Linked DNA regions of Homo sapiens: region 2 is linked to region 1. The links are contacts of gene promoters, found by promoter capture Hi-C in blood cells and fetal thymus (Javierre and others, 2016). All regions are on one chromosome and are shown on one strand. The core of a region is centred on a gene start or on the middle of the fragment in contact, and the rest is flanking DNA. Distances in the headings are between cores, read along the strand shown. Region 1 holds the start of LINC02428 (long intergenic non-protein coding RNA 2428). Region 2 has its middle 47 kb from the start of LINC02503.

The links. Contacts are between HindIII fragments. The CHiCAGO score rates a contact against its expected background, and 5 or more counts as called.
Region 2: a contact is called between a fragment that was not itself captured here and the fragment with the promoter of LINC02428 in region 1, in 1 of 17 cell types (erythroblasts). The highest score is 6.6, in erythroblasts.

What each region holds. Positions count from the first base shown.
Region 1 is chr4:103,423,681-103,426,381 of GRCh38, forward strand. It overlaps LINC02428 (long intergenic non-protein coding RNA 2428), which reads left to right and starts at 1,362. Exons shown (of 4, transcript NR_125925.1): 1 at 1,362-1,505. RefSeq lists an enhancer at 1,090-1,591. The HindIII fragment of the contact is 12,082 bases long and covers 1-1,881 here.
Region 2 is chr4:103,913,145-103,915,845 of GRCh38, forward strand. No RefSeq gene overlaps it. Among named protein-coding and RNA genes, the nearest start is that of LINC02503, 47 kb to the right of the region's middle. The HindIII fragment of the contact is 1,465 bases long and covers 596-2,060 here.

The DNA.
Region 1 (2,701 bases), core at 112-2,611:
GAAAGTTCTTTCAGAATCTTGGTTGTGTGTTACCTGCTGTGCATTCTAGCCCTGCACATGATATTTGTCTCCTAGACTGACTGCTTCTTATTCCTTTTCCCTTTCTGGTAAGCAGTATAGGTTAGTGGTGGGGAGTGCAGGTTCTGGAAGCAGAAAGTCTGGGTTTAAATCCTGGCTGGCCTACTTATTAGCTGTGTGATCCTGAGCAAGTTATTTAACTTCTGTCAGTCTTTTTATCCTCATTCATCAAGTATAAATAGCAGTGGTACCTATCCCACAGATTTGTTATAAAAATGCAATGACATCACCTCATAAAAGTATATCATGACCATGCTAAGCATGTTAAGTGGTTGGAAAATGTTAATAATTATTATTAATTTCTTATTGTTTTGACTCATATCTAGATCTATCAATGTATGTAATCACAATGCTTGGCACATAGAACACACAGAACTCAGCTCACTTTTTTGTGCATAAAGATATGTAATTATGTAACTTTGTGTATGTGTATGTGTGTGTTATGTTTGTGTGATTTGTGAAGGTGTTGTGCAGATAAAATCTTTTTACAGAAATGCCCAAGGCCCCTGGATTTCTGCCTCTTAGAGAAAGATTATTCAAGTGGACTATATTTGCAAAACCAATTTTCTAAGAAACCAGATTTTTAAAAATAAATTTCTAAAATCCCTATGTTGTCTTTTATTAAAATTATATATTTCTCTTGGTCTTTTAGTATACTGTACATAGACTGTGTTATTTTGTTAGATTTTCCCCAGTTATTTCTTTTTGGGGGAGCAGATATTAGTAAAAGATAAAATGGCACCCAAGAATATTTTTCAAGAACAAAATACATGGCTTAAGAAAAAGAATAACCTGTCTGAGGAATGGTAGGAAGGACATTTGGAAATGAACATGCCTCAGTGTTGAGGAAGATGCTGACCAGAAATGTGTAAGCAATCTGGAGACAAACTGTTGCTTTCTTTATAATTTTACTCCTATTCAGTTCTGGTTTCATCTTTCCATTAATACATATTCACTTTATAATGTAGGGAGCACTCTTTCTTGCCTTTGGGATTTAAGTAATTGAAGTTAATCTTTTTGAAAGAGATCTCAGTTGGATTGATCTAAGATTGAAAAGGTCATTAAGAGGAAATTAATAAAAGGGAACTCTTTAAGGTGGGTAACGCAGGTATTATAGTCTTAGCCCCTGGAATATGACCCAGTGGGCAGAGTAAGCCCTGGCAAAGCAAGGCACACAGCCAAATGTTAGCTTTTCACATGCAAAAACAGGATTATGCAATAGTACAGACTTTGCAAGTCTATTGTTTACAGAAGGAATTAAGCAACATTTGTTTACCTACTTCATTATTATACCAGCAATCCAGCCTGAAGGACTTAGCTCATAGATGTCTTCTGAAATGTGGAAGAAATACTTTCGTTTGTCATAAAACCTCAGCAGGAGATTGGAGTCTGGAAGAGGGAGGGGAGAAGAGGAGGACCTCAGGGAGGCAAGTTAAACAGTCCAGTTTTTGCATCTTAATTTCCTTCTCTGTGCTTTTGTCTTTCAAGGGGTGGTGCCGGGCACAGGTATTTTAGATAAATAAGTGGGATGGCAAGAGAAGGACCTTTTTACTGCTTACCCATTTATTGGGTGACAATCCAGTATGCTGTCCAGAATGCAATATTTTTGAGAGTAAAAGAAATCATACTGGGCCAGATCATAAAACCCAGCATTTTTTAGACAAACTGATATAGTGTATATGGTTAACTTACTTTGTACGAAGAAGGTATAACAAACTCACTTTAGAGGACAGTGGTACAGTCTGATAGAGTGAGTACCCAGTTAACTCTCTGTGTGTTATGTCAGCTGGCTTTGTATCAGGAAGCTTCTGGTGAGTTTAGGTGACCCCTTAGCAGAGGCAGGTGGAAAATTCCAGGCTAGGAGGCTGGATGGAGTAGATGGTAAACACTCAAGGGTCAGTGGTCTATGATGAGAGCACAAGCCAAGAACCAACCATGAGGATTCCAAGGGGAGCCTGGGTTATCAGAAGCCATTAGAGCTGCAGTGACCAGATTAAAAAGGACATTGCCCCAAGAGTGTCTGCATGAAATAAGGGATATCCTTGCTTGTTTGTGACCCAAGGATATGTAAGCCATACATTTTTCCCTTTATATCCCTCAATGTTAGAGAGAGAAACAGAAAATATGGTGGCTATATGGGATATGAAATATTTGTATTAATAAAAATGTTAATAGAAATTGCATGGCCTTTTAATTTATGGTGTGGGACTAAATTTAAACTACAAATGTAGTTGAGTTTCTATTTTGTGGAGAGATTATTTATGAACAAAATAAAGGAGTTACAACTCTTTATAAATAAGTCATACTATAAAATGTGTGACCCTCCTTGTTGCATTTAAAAAGGCTATATATTTTTTGATAGTGAGATCTTTTCCCTCTGTATTTCTCTCCAAAAATCTTAATAATGTCACCATTTTATTAAATCATTTGATAGGATCAATACTTTATATGAACTATCTCATCTGAGCAGCCCCAAGAAACCTGTAAAACAGGCATTATTGTCCTATTTTATAGGTAAATTAGCCAAGGATAAGATAAATCGAAGGGATTCATCAAGTTCACCTAGATAATAAGTGGTAGAGCTTGGATTTAGAACCAAGCCAAAACACTCACATGGCTTACC
Region 2 (2,701 bases), core at 78-2,577, 490 kb after region 1:
TTAATAAAGCATATTGCCTAGATGTCCGCTTTTTCTAATGTTAATGTTAGAAAACTACATTTGCTTGCTTTTGGCTATTTTTGCATGGATTTTGGGTTTTACTCTCATTATGGATAGACTAAATGGGGCATTTCTGCCCAGAAAGAAGTTCCAATAATGAATAATCTTTGGTTTGGGGCTTTTTAGTGAGTTACCAAAGATATTTTTTTCCTAGCTACAGTACAGTTTGACTCTCCCCTAACCCAGCAGCCTCCTTCTTTCATTTCATATGTCTAAGAACTGCTTCATCTATAAATATTCCTAGTGTTCCTTCCTTCATCATTAATAAATGGTTTCTGCAATAACTGTGCATTTCTATTTTGGTATTTTATTTGAAATTCATCCTTGATTAATGTGATTCTGATTCCTCTAACATTATCAATAGTACTTTTATCAGTTAGTAGCAAGAAGAATTGTAAAGTAAATTTGGTGAATTCATTGTTGCTCATAAATGACAAATCTTAAAATCATATTTTTCAGCAAAAACTCTTGAAAATTAATAGATGACGTTTTAGGCCTAATTATGTGGCTAGTGAGAAGAGGTGGTTCAAATATAAGCTTCTAACTGTAAATTTACTGAGACTCCACCATGCTTCAAAATACTCTATGTCTGAATAATTTATATAGATGTTAACACAACTTATAGAACAAGAAATTTATTATATATGTATAGCAAAAAAGAATGGGATGCTGTTGTTTGAAAGCAGAGTTTCTTGTATTTGAGGTAGAATTAATCTAAGGTAGAATTTTTCAACACAAAATTTCTGGTTTATAAACAAATAGGCATGTTTACATTAAATATTAAATATACCAGAAGATTTATAACTAATTATTTAAATCCCTGTAGTTTTCCACTAAGAACTTTGTGAATGCCAATCAAGTTATTTTTATCATGCCTATGTTTCTATTTATTGTCACCTTCATTAATCACTCAGAAGATAGTGATTACAGGTATTGTGCTATTACTCTTCAGTTTTATAAGGCAAATGTTATTAAGCATCATTTTTTAAAGACTAAAAACACACTGAAAAAAGAGTTTCGTTTTCTGTTCCTGTGTTAGTTTGCCAAGGATAATGACTTCCAGCTCCATCCATGTCCCTGCAAAAGACATGATCTTGTTCCTTTTTATGGCTGCATAGTATTCCTTGGTGTATATGTACCACATTTTCTTTATCCACTTTATCATTGATGGTCATTTGGGTTCATTCCATGCTGAACAATGAGAACACATGGACACAGGGAGGGGAACAACACACACTGTGGCCTGGTGGGGGTAGGGGGAGGGAAAGCATCAGGATGAATAGCTAATGCATGCAAGGCTTAATACCTAGGTGATGGGTTGATAGGTGCAGCAAGCCACCATGGCACATGTTTACCTACATAATAAACCTGCACATCCTGCACATGCATCCTGGAACTTAAAATAAAACTTTAAAAAAAGTTTTGAAATTATGTTTTTCCTAGACTTTTGGGTCCATGAATATCACTCTGTTGTCCTAGGGAATACCTCTTAATAAAAACAGCTTTTTCGGAGTAATGAATCAGAGAAGGCAGGAGTGATATTTATGTTTTTTTAAAAGTGTGATAGTGCCTTTACAAGTTGTATACTTAGACATATTCTTCCACTACAAAGAAGTAGATGCTCTGGGAGCTCATGTAATTTCAGAAATCTAGGAGATTCATGATGTTTATTAAGTTATTTATTTATTTATTTTTTTGATGGAGTCTCGCTCTGTCACCCAGGCTGGAGTGCAGTGGCGTGATCTTGGCTCACTGCAACCTCTGCCTTCCAGGTTGAAGTGATTCTCCTCCCTCAGCCTCCTGAGTAGCTGTGATTACAGGCATGTGCCACCATGCCCGGCTAATTTTTGTATTTTTAGTAGAGACAGGGTTTCACCATGTTGGTCAAGGTGGTCTCGAACTCCTGACCTCGTGATCTGCCTGCCTCAGGCTTCCAAAGTGCTGGAATTACAAGCGTGAGCTACAGCGCCAGGCCAAAGTTCATCTTTAATGTATCCACAAGCTTCTGATTGTATGCAGGCATATCAAATATCTACATCTGGCTTCGTTCTTTCTTTTTCTCACTAGTGCTATTACTATGTGGTGTTTTACACAATAAAAATTATCTCAATAATGAATATCATGATGGAATTTCAAATGGCTTATTTTTTACTATTGAGAACTAACAGGCAATAGAACTGGAAGTCAGAAATGAACACAAGTGGCATGTGCCCTCTAGTGGACAGAAGACAGTAAAAACAAACAAAAAACAAAACCAAACCAAACAAAACTAAAACAAAACAAAACAAAACTACAGTTTGCCCTCCGTAACTGTGAGTTCCTCATCTGGGGATTCAACTAACTGTGAATCAAAAGTATTTAAAAAGTAAAAAATTAAAAATTAAAACAATGCAATAATAAAAATAATGCAAATAAAAAATACAGAATAACAACTATTTACATAGTATTTATGTTGTCTTTGGTTTTTGCTTTGAAGACAGGTTCTCACTTTATAGCCCAAGCTGGAGTGCATTGGTGCAATCAGGGCTCACTGTAGCCTCCATCTCCCAGGCTCAAGTGATCCTCCCACCTTAGCCGACTGAGTAGCTGGGATTACAGACAGAAAACAGTGTGCCTGGCTATTTTTGTTTTTTAATTTTTG